2 separate regions of the Homo sapiens genome follow, and region 2 is linked to region 1. The links are contacts of gene promoters, found by promoter capture Hi-C in blood cells and fetal thymus (Javierre and others, 2016). All regions are on one chromosome and are shown on one strand. The core of a region is centred on a gene start or on the middle of the fragment in contact, and the rest is flanking DNA. Distances in the headings are between cores, read along the strand shown. Region 1 holds the start of SLC66A3 (solute carrier family 66 member 3). Region 2 overlaps E2F6 (E2F transcription factor 6).

The links. The method cuts DNA at HindIII sites, captures the fragments that hold promoters and counts their contacts. A CHiCAGO score of 5 or more calls a contact.
Region 2: a fragment that was not itself captured here is called in contact with the fragment with the promoter of SLC66A3 in region 1 in 1 of 17 cell types (M2 macrophages); the score reaches 7.1 in M2 macrophages.

What each region holds. Positions count from the first base shown.
Region 1 is chr2:11,151,907-11,158,957 of GRCh38, reverse strand. SLC66A3 (solute carrier family 66 member 3) reads right to left here and starts at 3,491. Exons shown (of 7, transcript NM_152391.5): 1 at 3,269-3,491. The coding sequence starts at 3,411. It also overlaps a transcript of CIMIP5 not described here. RefSeq lists silencers at 166-414, 3,075-3,314, 3,425-3,904 and an enhancer at 6,160-6,660. The HindIII fragment of the contact is 10,263 bases long and covers 1-7,051 here.
Region 2 is chr2:11,440,312-11,447,362 of GRCh38, reverse strand. E2F6 (E2F transcription factor 6) reads left to right here. Exons shown (of 7, transcript NM_198256.4): 7 at 840-2,988. The coding sequence ends at 886. Among named protein-coding and RNA genes, the nearest start is that of E2F6, 22 kb to the left of the region's middle. The HindIII fragment of the contact is 7,403 bases long and covers 464-7,051 here.

The DNA.
Region 1 (7,051 bases), core at 2,242-4,741:
TGCAGCCGTTGCTGCCCCTGCAGGTTTTGCCGTCTACTCCCTGCTTTCCCTGGGATTCAAACTCCCCCCATCCCTGCAGCCTGGGGAGGTGGGGTGGGGACAGTGTCTTTCCTTTAGTTTTTAATGTTTCTTTTTTTTTGAGATGGAGTCTTGCTCTGTCGCCCAGGCTGGAGTGCAGTGGCGCGATCTCAGTCACTGCAACCTCCACCTCCCGGGTTCCAGCGGTTCTCCTGCTCAGCCTCCCGAGTAGCTGAGACTACATGTGTGCCACTACACCTGGCTAATTTCTTTTTTTTGAGGCGGAGTCTTGCTCTGTCACCCAGGCTGGAGTGCAGTGGCACGATCTCGGCTCACTGCAAGCTCCGCCTCCCGGGTTCACGCCATTCTCCTGCCTCAGACTCCCAAGTAGCTGGGACTACAGGCGCCAGCCACCACGCCCAGCTAATTTTTTGTATCTTTAGTAGAGACAGGGTTTCACCGTGTTAGCCAGGATGGTCTTGATCTCCTGACCTCGTGATCCGCCGGCCTGGGCCTCCCAAAGTGCTGGGATTACAGGTGTGAGCCACTGCACCCAGCCTACACTGGTTAATTTTTGTGTTTTTAGTAGAGATGGGGTTTCACCATGTTGGCAAGGCTGGTCTTGAACTCCTGACCTCAGGTTATCTGCCCGCCTCGGCCTCCCAAAGGGCTGGGATTACAGGCATGAGCCACCATGCCTGTCCCTTTAAAGTTTCTTTTAATAAGTAATCGCTATAGTGCTTATCATAATAAAATCATGCCAGCCGGGCATCTGACACAGCCCCATTTGTTTCCATTCCCATCTGCTCCATGCAGCCATTGGAGTTTTCTCCCTCAACACCTACTAGAGGGTTAAACAAAACGTACCCCCACCCAGGCTGGGGGACAAGTGACCTGGAGCAAGGGGTGGGCTCCAAAGGCATCCTACCCAGAGGCCAAGGCTCTACAGCCTAAGGGTCCACCGTGGGAGGGCCGCAGTCCATGGAAGGCTGCAGGCAGGGCAGGTTGGATGAATCTTGTGCTCCAGGAGGCTCCTGGCTGCAGAGAGCAGGGAGGCAGAGCCCAGCAGAGCCCTGGAGGCAGGAGAAGCAGCAAGGTTGGGAACTTGCGAGGGGGAAGGCTCCAGCTACAAGGAATGCCCCTGGGTGGCAGAGGCAGGTCCCTGGGCAGAGGCTCCTGCCCTTCACACCAAGCCACACTAAAAAGGCTTTTCTGGCATTATTAAGACACACTTCATGCTCCAATTGACTCAGTGCTCTCAAAACCAGGCTCTTAGTTTGCTCAAATGGAGACCCAAAGAGGGCCCGTGCCCTCCAGGTGGCTGACTGCGACAGCCCTGGGGTTCCTTCTGCTCTAACTCCGGCTGCTGCCTGATCTGGTCAGGGGCCCGGGGGCCCAGCTGGCAAGCATGGCCAGCCCCAGGTGGGCCTCCCAGGCAAGGCTGGGAAGGGCATGAGGGAGGCAGGCAGGGAGACAGGAGGGCCAGGAGGATGGGTCCTGACACAGCCAAGCCCATTTTACAGAAGTCTGTGTGCCTGGCCCTGGCCCTGGCTTGGAGGCTGCAGAGCTGGTGCACCAGCCCCGACAGAGCCCCCTTTACCTGCACGTGATCAACTGCAAGACCCTTAGACAGGCCAGCAGGGATGGCAGCAAGCTGCTGCCCCACCCAACCCTTGAGCTCCCATGCCCAGGAAGATCCTTCCACTGCCAGAGGTCTAGCTTTCACTAAGGTGAGCTGGGAGAGGTGACAGCTGGCAGATCTAATAGGAGCCCTCACCTGCGTATCTCTGAGGGTTTGCATTTTTCAAGCAATGCTGCAAAAGTGGTGGAAATGCAGGCCTAGGGGCTGGCGGCAGGAGGGAATCTATAGACTCTACAGACAGCCTGGCTTCTTTTCCTTCATGGGTCCAGCTTCAGCTTCCCCAGCTCAGGGACCTAGCAAGGGGCCGAGGCCAAATCCCACTCCTGGCTTTCATGCCCTTGTCCCCTCTCCCACCTGAACAGTCACCACAGCCACTTCCAGCCTGTGTCCTTTGCCACAACCTCATCGCTCCAGCCTCTCTGCTCCCAGCCTGGTGGTGGCACCAACCTGAAACGCATGCTGCCCACCTCCCCTGGGTGCCTCTCAACCCTGCCATCCAGCCTGGGACCCCCCCCTCCCCACCCCGCAGGGTAGAGTCACTCACAAGCCTGGAAGAGGTCACAGTCCCTCCCACTGCAAGCCTTTCCCAAAAATTTCCCCTCAAAGCCCCCTATTGGATGACTGTGCCCAGGGCCGGGCTCCATAGGGCCGGCGCGGGGTCCAAAGCCTGAGTGGGACCCCTCACCCTCCCACACCTGAGGTCTCCTCTTTCTCCCCCGCACCCCTTGGCTTCTTCCCATCCTGTATGCCGCACCCCCCACCCCGCCCACCAGGAAGGCTTGTGTGGAGGACCAGGCTTCAGACCCCACTGGGTGATGGCGGGGGGCAAAGGGGAAGGCCTGGCCTGGCCAGGGGGAAGGGGCGAGACCACTAGGTTGAGGTATGTGTTTTCCTATTGTTGGGGCTCAAAAATGATACCCCAAAAGTTTGGCGCTCTGGCATGATGAATACTTTGAATAGGAAAGCCTTAGAAGCTGCCTCAGAATCAAGGATTTAACGACCTTTCCGTCACCCCTTCCCAACTGCAGAGACTCTCCAACTTCCTTACAGATGACTAAGGAAACTTCTTTCTACAAGAAATGCAATTGTCTTAAGACCCTCTCCCAAGGAATCTCATTAAATAACCAGGAAAGATTCCCCACCAATCACCGGGAGAAGAGAAGAGATTCATACATTCTTAGTTCAACCCCTTATTTCACAGGTGAGGAAACCGAGGCCCGAGAACGAGGTTGACGGTGCGTGGTGAGTTTAGGGACAATGAATATGACAGCCTCGAGGTGCAAATGGCCTTGCTCAGGGCCAGCAGGTTTTGTCACTAGCGCACCAAGGGCTGCCTCCGCTGGGTCTGTTTTCTCATCTGTAAAATGGGCGTGCGCAATCAATTCGTGCCACGCGGGGCTTGGTGAGAAACAATGTACGCGGGTGGCGGGTGGCCGTGGGAAGAGCACCCCGAGCCCCTAGGCTCCCTAGTTCACCCTCGGCCGCCCAGCTGCGACGCCGGCGCGCGGGGATCATCCCCGCCCTACTTCGAGCCGAGGCTCTCCTGGGCTCCCAGCCGGCAGCAGCTGCGAGGGGGCAGGAGGCAGCCCCGGCCGCCCCGGGCCTTACCCTGCCAGCTCCAGAAGTAAACTCGGAAGGCTGAGGCCCCGCGCGCTGCGCGCCGCTAGCACAGCGGAGATCTGCGGCAGCTTCAGCGCGGCGCACACGCCCAGCGTGCTCCAGTTACACAGCCCCAGCAGCGCCGCCTCCATAGCGCCACGGGCGCGGGCACCTGGGCGGCCGCAGCGAGAAGGGACCGCTCAGCCTCGGCGGCGCAGCTCTGCCGAAGCCTTCCGCCTTCCCGGGATCCGCCCGGGACCACCCGGCCAGGGCCCGCCCCTCCGCGCGCCGCCAGGCCCCGGACCCGCCTCGCTCCGCCCCTCCCCTGGACGCACCCCGCCCCCGGGCCCGCCCCGCCCCTCCCGCCCGGGCCCGCCCCGCCCCGCCCCTCCCGCCCGGGCCCGCCCCGCCCCCTGGCCAGCCTCATCTCGCCTCGCCTACGGGCCCGCCCGGGCTCGCTCAGTCCTCGGACTACCCTCATCTCGCCCCGCCCCCAGATTCGCCCCCTCCCGGTCGGCCTCACCTAGCCCAATCCCGTGGCCAACCTCGCCTCGCCCCGCCCCTCCTCGCCCCGCCCCTCCCCTCCTAGCCCCGCCCCGGGCGACAGTCCCACCCTGGCCTGCGGGCTCCACCAGCAGCTGCTTCGCATTTCCGCGTTCTTGCCACCCGATAGTTTAGCCGCCGCCGGGAGCCGCCCTGGAAGTCCGGCTTTTCCACGGGTTGGGTGGACCGAGAGGCAAATGGCCCCGGGGGATGGGCCATTCTGCCGGGATTTTTCCCTCCCTGCAAGTGTTTTAGTTTCTCTCACTAAGCATTTCAGGAGTTAAAGCCTCCTGCTTAAGGGCTGAGTGCACCCTCCCGACTTACAGGTGGGGAACCAGGCTGGAGAGACTTTCTGGGACCAGAGCCCCAGGGTCGCCTCATTTGTGCCCTTTCAGAGCACGCGGCCTGTCTCCAGCCTGGGACTGAAGGCTTCCCTCCTAGCGGCGTGGGCCCTGAGGGGCCACCGGAAGCCTTGAACTTGAGCACTTCACAGTGAAACTGTTTCTTAAGGATTTCTCCTGATAAAGTAACTTGGACGTGGCCGTCTAAGCCACAAACTGAGGGAAAGGGAAGGACGCATTTTCCAACCTCTGAAAATCGCCTGTGTATTAGGGCCTGGTTATGAAGCAGGCAAAAAAGCACCAAAATGCAATGCCAGAATCCACGATCCCTGGTTTTGTGCCATAAATCTCAGCCGGGAAGTGTGAGGGACGGGAGCTGGGTCAGCTTCGGAGTTCGGAATTCTGGCCGAGGCTCTTTCTCTCCAGCCTCACCGGCCCATCACCTCCGCCTATGGAAAAAAAAAAACAGGTGCTGAGTCCTGCCTCCCAAGTCTAAATGAGAAAAGGATGTTCAGAAGGGAACCCTTAAAGGAAACGGCTTGGACCTGCCCTGGCTAGATCGATACTGATCGTTATTGACCCCGCGAAGCGGGAAGATTGCTTGAGGCCAGGAGTTCAAGACCAGCCTGAGCAACATAGGGAAACCCCCGCCTCTACTAAAAATACAAAAATTAGCCGAGCGTGGTGGCGCGTGCCTGTGGTCCCAGCTACTCGGGAGGCTGAGACAGGAGGATGGCTTGAACCCAGGAGGCGGAGGTTGCAGTGAGTCGAGATCGCGCCACTTCACTCTAGCCTGGGAGACAGAGCCAGACCCTGTCTCAAAAATAAATAAATAATATGTATATAAATTTTTTGAAGAAGAAAATAGAGAAGAGCTTTTTTTTTTTTTTGAGACGGAGTTTCACTCTTGTCGCCCAGGCTGGAGTGCAGTGGCACGATCTCTGCTCACTGCGACCTCCACCTCCGGGGTTCAAGTGATTCTCCTGCCTCTGCCTCCCAAGTAGCTGGAATTACAGGCATGTGCCACCACTCCCGGCTAATTTTTGTATTTTTAGTACAGACGGGGTTTCGAACTCCTGACCTCAGGTGATCCACCTGCCTTGGCCTCCCAAAGTGCTGGGATTACAGGCATGAGCCACCGCGCCCAGCGTAAAGAGCTTTTTAACAAGCATCAGCAGCAATGACTATAGGAACATCTAGAACCTGTTGAGTGCCTCCTGCGTGCCAGGTGTTTTACTTTCATCATGCCATGTGATAGGTCCCTTGATGCAAGGAGGTGGTCCTGGTTGGAAGTGCCTGGTTCCTGCCACATGGCAGTGGAATCCCCCTCCCTCCTCTTCCCCTTCTGCCCCAGCCTTTATTCCAGGGGTTGGCCAGGATCTGGGCCCCCAGGACTAGCCTTAGGAGGGAACTGCTCCCACCTGGGGTCAGCCTGCGCTAGCACTTGGGGATGCAGGCAGCATGAGGGGCCTTTGAGAGGTATGAGTGCCCCCAGGACCACGCAGGGAGTGGCCTCCTCCATTGTGGAACAAATGCTGCTCCTGGCCCAGGACACTGCAGCCGCCTGCTCTGGGGGTCAGCTGGGTGAGGCAGGGCTGTGGAAGAGGTTTCTTCCTGGCTCCTAGACCCCTCCCTGGCTACTTTGCGTGAAGACCAGGATGCAGTGATGTGGGTGTGTGGCCCTTCGGGGTTAGGCAGACCTCAGCTGTCCTCCTAGCATTGGCCCCTACAGGCTGCATGATCTTGGACAGACCTTAACTTCCCTGTTCCTCAGCGTCATTTTTAAAAGGGGAGAACCATCCCGCTCAGAAGGTTATTGAGAGGCACAGAATAGGTGCTCAACGTATATGGTCATTCCCCACCAGGTGCAAACTAGCAAAACCTTTTTGGGATTTGTGGGCACTGGCTTTGCTCCTGAAGCTGTGGGGATGGGGGCGGTCCTAGGTTGGAGCCAGGTTTGGGCCATGCAGGAAGGCGTTTGGGTCTCAGCCCCCATGCCCAGCGGGACATCTCAAGAGCATGCCAGCTCTTCTGCTTGGAGGATGGCCTCAAAACAGCTGATCTGCGAGGCTCCTCTGTCCCTTCAGGAGGTTGGGGAGTGTCTGGACGGGGGTCTCTACAGTGCACACTCACTGGGATATCTCTGCAGGACAAGATAGTGCCCCCATGTTAGAGACCTCTGCCTCCTCCCCAGCTACATGGCAACCCTGGTCACAATCTGTTACAGGACCCTAACCCCACTCCTGGGCCACAGCTGCACAGAGTGAATCAGCTCCCTGACTGAAGCTGGCCAAGGAGTCTCATTGAAACCACCTTTGCAAAAATTATAACAGGAAATTATGACAATGAAAGAAATCAGACCTAACTGACCCCATCTTGCTTCTAAACTTTAAGCTGTCCTGGTTCCTTCCTGGGCATAGGCTGAACCAACCTTGGGAAGGAATTTAGTTTATGGTTTGACTCTGAAACAAAATTAGTAATAATCCTTTCCCGAAAAGACCACCTTTGTGCCTTGGGACCTGTCTGCCTTTGTAGGACTAACAAATTAGCTACAAGATTAGAAATGACAGTTTAGGGTCAGGCAGCCTCTGGCTGCAAGAGTCTGAACCTTCCCAAATTGTTCCTGGGGATCACATCACTATTGTAAAACCTAAGATCAGTGCTTGAGGTATTTTGCAGCCCCTGCACTGGATGGATCAGCTGACACCACCCAGACCAATTATTTGGCTCAACCAGTTCTGCAATCCCCGCTCGGGAACAGAAGACAGCGAGAAAACTTCACTTCGACCCCCGTGTGATTCCATCTCCATCCTCACCAATCAGCACTTTCCACTTCCCAAGCCCCTACTGGCCAAATTATCTTTAAAAACTTCCATCCCCAGTCGGAGCGCGGTGGCTCACGCCTGTA
Region 2 (7,051 bases), core at 2,916-5,415, 290 kb before region 1:
AGTCAAACAGCAGCTCCACTCGGCCAAAGAGCCTGCCCATGACCTGGCCGGGAGACTTCCCCTTCTGCACATCTTGGAGAAGGGAAGGGGCTAGACCTGCTTGACCCAGGCAGTCAAATACCCACTCAACTCAGCCAACAGCCCACTCCACAAGAGTCAGTCCTCAGTTGCACATTTCTAAGGACGTCGCCTCTGGACCCATCTGGCCAGAGCAGTGACTCCATCTAACCTCGGAACCCAGCTTGCAGTGCTGTCCAACAGCAGATCCCAAATAGTGGAATTGCCTGAGCAGGGGACCAGCATCCTGTGACCGGCCTGGGCAGAAGCCATCACAGTACCCAGCCAACAGCTCCACCGACATCCGAACAAAGACCCAGCCAACTGGAGAACTTGACAAGCACTGCGGGCCAGGGTGGTCTTCAGGTGGCCCTTGCAGAGCCACAGGCTGGACCGATAGGAAGCTTTCACTGACGAAGAATACCTGTAATGACCAGAAGAGGGGGCTGTTGCCCACATGCAGACAACAGCACAAAGACACAAGGATTACGAAGACTGGGGGAGTCGTGACGGCTCCAAAAGAAACTAATAAAGCCCTAATAAGGGAAGGTTTCCTCCATTCTCGGACGGGTGCTTTCAGGTACAAGTTAGAGTTCCAGTTTATTCTTGAGAGGCTGAAAAAATTAGCCTTATGCCATTAACCTGAGAATACGTGTTCTTGACCAGGCATCTTCAGGGTTTTCTGAAGTAGTCAGATTGTGTATTCTTTTACGTATTTGCCTATCAGACCTTCACTTAGGTGTATTCACTTAGGTGTATTTCTCTCTCGTGTTCTTTTCCAGAAGAAAATCCTCAGCAAAGTGAAGAATTGCTTGAAGTAAGCAACTGATGGCATTTGAGAATTTATGTATCACTGAGTTTTTTGGGAATATCTTCGTGGAGAATTACGCATCAAATTTGATTCTCAGAGCAATAAATTATCCATGAAGTGCTCTCGTTCTCAGTAGCGGCATCATGGCCAGTAGTGTCTTTGAGGAGTTCACCACTTAGATTACTGAGTAATTGTGGTTTCCACATTTGAAAACAACTCCTTTTATAATTATTCACTGCTTTTTGTCAGTGAAATAGACATCTTGCCTCCTGAAGTAGCTTCATCACAGAGTGTCATGAAGACAGACAGTCAGGCTGAAATGGACAGTTCTTTGTGGACTCTACCCTTCCCTTCAAGGAGTATGTCATATATCACAAAAGAAATTGCCTTACACTGGTTCATGTTTGCAGTTACTGTTGTACATTGCATAGATGTACACACGAATTTAAATGTGATGTCTTTGTATATATCTGTATAATGTTGAGATTACTTACGAAATATGTCTGAGTGACACTTTTCACCCTTGTACAGCCAAAATAATGTATATATGGAAAGTGACAGACAAATTCTCTAATCTCTTTGGTACCTATAACTTATTAGAATCCTCTGGATGAGGGTTAGAAGAGACTTTTTCCAAACTTCTACATGTAGAAGTATCATAAATGTGCTACACATTTATGTTTGTGGATTTAATTAAAGTATTTTAATATGGTTTTCAGTGCTAAAATTGGAGTCAGATACTTCTTGGTTTTAAGCTGTCTACCTAATTGCTGTCTCCCAGCAGACTGGTGGCATGCCCAGTGGCTTTGGGGGCAAGGATAGAAATGCCATCAGGAAATAGCTGAATTCATTGTGAAACATGAATTCAGTCATGGTGATAATTGGAAACTCCTTTCAGGTTTTTGCAAGTAGATTTTGTAATGTTTGTGTATGCAGCCTTGCTGTTGAGTCAGTCCAAGGGGTTTTACTTAGGACAAGTTGTACCTTGCCCTCTCTCCAGCTCTGCTCCCACATTTTCACATACCTAGCTGTTTCTACCTCATTGGGTAAGTCATTTACCACTCTGTGCCTCAGTTTACTCTGTAGTTTACCATTAGACTGTGAGCTCCTTGAGGGACTTTGTCATAATCACTGTTACATCCCAGTGCCTCACACCATGCCTGGCCCTTAAGAAGTGCTCAATAAATGTCTGAACAAATAAGTGAGTGGAGTGAGTGAATTGTAAGATCAGAATAATAATATTTGGTTTGTCTATCGTACAAGATTCCTGTATCGTTTGAATATTGCTTTTAAAGAAATATTTGAAGCGACTTCAAATTCAGACTGTGTTTAAAAAGATTTAAAATCGGAATCCAAAATCAAAGTATTAAAAAATAATGCTGAGTGTTTAGGATTCACATACCTCTGAGCTCTGGTGGCTTTTGCCAGTCCTGTCCCTCTGCTGAGCACCAGCCCTTCCTGCAGCAGTCCTGCCGGTGTGTTTCTGTGCACCTGGGGATGAAGTGTGCTCCTCCCCCAGCGGTTAGCCTCAATGCTTTTCCTCCCTCTGTTTTATTATTTGAAATTAGCCAAAGAAAAGCTGCAGGGGGCACTGCTGATCATCACTGGACTGGTGGGTCGTACTGTTTGACAGAATAGGGAATACAGGAGGAGGAGCAAGCCTAGGGTAAAACTTAGGTTTGGGACATGCTTGATGAAAGCAAGAGTTGAGCAGGTTGTTGTGTGTATGTAGGTCAGGTGCTCAGCGGAAAAGTCTGAGCTGTGTAGTACGTCAGGCAGATGTCAGTTTAGATGCGATAGTTTAAGCCACAAGAGTAGGAGAGGTCATCTAAAGAGTACAGCAGGCCTAAGGGCATCTATATTTAAGGAGAAATACAGAAGAAGTCTCCTGAGAAGGAATAATGGGGCGGGTGGGGAGGGAGAAGGCAGTGTCCCAAAAACCAACAAAGGTTTTACCAAAGGTAATACCATCATTTCTGAGCAGCAGTTCCTTAACTTGTGAATGTGGCAAATGTTCTCCTTTACAAATTGTTCTGAAGGTAAAATGAGATCATGTAAACGAAAATCCTTTGTAAATTACAGATGTGTGTTATAAATGAAGTATCTCTCGAGTCACTCCATCTTCTGGCGTTGGGTCTCTGATTCTTAAAACGGATAAAATAAGCATGAACTCGTTTCTGGGCCCCTCCTCCTCACTAACCCTAACCTTTCCAACCTCACTGTCCCATCTCTGTGCGCACCGCTTCTTCCTTCAGAAACCTTGAGCGATCCGTGTTTCCTTCAGGCCGAAGTGCAGACTCTGGATATAGAAGGGCCCAAGGCTTGCTTACCAATCCTGCCTTGGTACCTGCCTTGCAGACCTTCACCCCAGTAAATTGGTCTCATCGCTACCTGAAGCACACAGTGAACTTTCCCATCTCCCTGCCTTTGCTCTTATCCTATCCTCTTCCTGTTCTCTGTGTTTCAAAATCGCATCCCTATTCTGGACCTGGCTTCACCCATGCCTCCCCTTTACTCCTACCCTGCATGCAGTTTATACACAGCACGCAGGTGGCCATCTTCCTTCCTCATAAGTTGCTGCGGCTACGTTCCCAGCTGCCATTCCATGTTGTCAGAGTGTAAGCTCATGTCTTAATAGGTATTTCTCATATTAATGTAGTGTATGATAGGGTTTGGCTGTGTCCCCACCCAAATCTCATTTTGAATTGCAGTTCCCATAATCCCCATGTGTCGTGGGAGGGACCAGGTGGAGATAACTGAATCATGGGAGCTGTTTCCCTACATCCTGTTCTCGTGATAGTAAGTTCTCACGAGATCTAATGGTTTAATAGAGGGCTTTTCCCTTCGCTCGGCTCTCATTCTCCCTCCTGCCACCATATGAAGAAAGACGTATTTGCTTCCTCTTCCACCATGATTGTAAGTTTCCTGAGCCAGCCATGCTGAACTATGAGTCAATTAAATCTGTTTCCATTATAAATTACCCAGCCTTGGGTATGTCTTTGTTAGCAGTTTGAGAATGGACTAATACAGTAAATTGGTACCACAGAGAGTGGGGTGCTGCTGTAAAGATACCCAAAAATGTGGAAGCAACTTTGGAACTGAGTAACAGGCAGAGGTTGGAACAGTTTGGAGGGTTCAGAAGAAGACAGGAAAATGTGGGAAACATTTAGAACTTCCTAGAGACTTGTTGAATAGCTTTGACAAATTGCTGATAGTGATATGGACAGTGAAGTCCAGGCTGAAGTGGTCAAGATGGAGATGAAGAACCTATTGGAAGCGGGAGTAAAGGTCACTCTTGCTATGGAAAGAGACTGGTAGCATTTTGCCTCTGCCGTAGAGATGCATGGAACTTTGAGAGAGATGAGTTAGGGTATCTGGCAGAAGAAATTTCTAAGCAGCAAAGTGTTCGAGAGGAAGCAGAGCATAAAAGTTTGGAAAATTTTGCAGCCTGATGATGGGATAGAAAAGAAAACTCCATTTTCTGGGGAGAAATTTAAGCTGGCTGCAGAAATTTGCATAAGTAACGTCAAATGTTAATCACCAAGAGAATGGGGAAGATGTCTCCAGGGCATGTCAGAGACCTTCCAGCAGCCCCTCCTATCACAAGCCTGGGGGCCTATAAGGGCCCCCCCCCCACCCCCCGCTCTATGCTGCATTGGGACATGGTGCCCTGCATCCTAGCTTCTTCAGCTCCAGCCTTGGCTAAAAGGGACCAACATAAAGCTCAGGCTGTTGCTTCAGAGGGTGCAAGCCCCAAGCCTTGGCTTACACATGGTGTTGGGCCTATGGGTGCACAGAAGTCAAGAATTAAGGTCTGGGAACCTCTGCCTAGATTTCAGAGGATGTATGGAAACACCTGGATGTCCAGGCAGAAGTTCGCTCTCTGGAGAACCTCTGCTAGGGCAGTGTGGAAGGGAAATACGGGGTTGGATCCCCCACACAGAGTCCCGATTGGTGCACTGCCTGGTGGAGCTGTGAGAACAGGGCCACCGTCCTCCAGACCCCAGAATGGTAGCTTGCACTGTGCACCCGGAAGAGTCCCAGACACTCAACACCAGCCTGTGAAAGTAACCAAGGTGGGGGTGGGGGTATACCCTGCAAAGCCACAGGAGTGGGGCTGCCCAAGGCCATGGGAGCCCACCTCTTGCATCAACATCACCTGGATGGGAGACACGGAGTCAAAGGAGATCATTTTGGAACTTTAAGGTTTAATGACTGCCGTATTGGATTTCGGACTTGCATGGCACCCGTAGCCTCTTTGTTTTGGCCAATTTCTCCCATTTGGAATGGGTGTATTTACCCAATCCCTGTACCCCCATTGTATCTAGGAAGTAACTAACTTGCTTTTGGTTTTACAGGCCCATAGGTGGAAGGGACTTGCCTTGTCTGAGATGAGACTTTGGACTTGGAGTTTTGAGTTAATGCTGGAATGAGCTAAGACTTTGGGTGACTGTTGGAAGGGCAGGGTTATGTTTGGAATTATGAGGACATGAGATTTGGGAGGGGCCAGGGACAGAATGATATGGTTTGGCTGTGTTCTCACCCCAATCTCATCTTGAATTATAGTTCCCATAATCCCCACATGTTGTGGGAGGGACCAGATGGAGAAAATTGAATCATGGGGGCTGTTTCCTCCATCCTGTTCTCGTGATAGTAAGTTCTCACAAGATCCGATGCTTTTGTAAGGGGCTTCCCCCTTGGATCGGCTCTCATTCTTCTCTCTCCTGCCACTATGTGAAGAAGGACATGTTTGCTTCCCCTTCCACCATGATTGTAAGTTTCCTGAGGCCTCAGCCATGCTGAACTGTGAGTCAATTAAACCTCTTTCCTTTATAAATTACCCAGTCTTGGGTATGTCTTTATTAGCAGCATGAGAATGGACTAATACAATGTTCAGTAAGTTGTTGCTGGTTGGTAAGTGACCTGACCTGACTACATCATTCGACCCAACTCCCAAGAAATTTTTTTTTTTTTTTGTAACGGAGTCTCACTCTGTCACACAGGCTGGAGTGCAGTGGTATGATCTCAGCTCACTGCAACCTCTGCCTCCCAGGTTCAAGTGATTCTCGTGCCTCAGACTCCAGAGTAGCTGGGATTTCAGGCATGGGCCACCACAGCTGGCTAATTTTTGTGTTTTTTTAGTAGAGGTGGGATTTCACCACGTTGGCCAGGCTGGTCTCGAACTCCTGACCTCAAGTGATCTGCCTGCCTCTGCCTCCCAAAGTGCTGGGATTACAGACATGAGCCACCACACCTGGCCCTGAGAATTTTTTTTAAAAGATGACTTCAGGCCGAGCGTGGTGGCTCACGCCTGTAATCCCAGCACTTTGGGAGGCTGAGGCAGGCAGGTCACAAGGTCAAGAGATCAAGACCATCCTAGCCAACATGGTGAAACCCATCTGTACTAAAAATACAAAAATTAGCCGGACCTGGTGGCACGCACCAGTCGTCCCAGCTACTCAGGAGGCTGAGGCAGAAGAATCACCTGAACCTGGGAGGTAGAGGTTGCAGTGAGCCGAGATTGCACCACTGCGTTCCAGCCTGGCAACAGAGCGAGACTCCATCTAAAGTTAAAAAAATAAATAAATAAATAAAAAATAAAAAAAAAACGATGACTTCAGTAACTAACGGAATTTGTAATGAAAAAAAGATTGCCAAATTTGCATTTTGCTAAAAGTTAAAGCACATCTAACTAATTGTCCTTTGCCTCAGCAAAAGATGAGCCCCCCTGTACTTGAGACAGCTATGACTCCTTTTGTGCCTCCCTTTTGATGGTTTTGGCCCCAGGGATGCATGTATTGGCGGAGTCAAGTGAATGCCCAAGGTTAGCAAGTGAATGATGGTGCTGCTGAGGGCTTGAGGGGCTTAAGACAGAACCAGCGTTTCACTTTCATACATGAAACTGTTTCTTCATATCTCAGAAATGGGCCACTCGATTAACATAATTAAAAATGAAAATCAGAATAAAACCACCTGGGTCATTAAAAGCAACCCATTGTATTACAGTGTTTCGAAGTTGGCTTTTTGATTCTATTAGGATTGGCTTACCCCACCCTCCAAGCGGTGCACCCCGGCCTTGCCAGGCGTTAGCTGCAGATTAAGGCAGTGCCTTCTCCTGGCTTTATGTTTTGCTTTTGTAGTTTCTCTGACTGCTAAAGACAGACCTGGTGCCTTGTTGGCCTT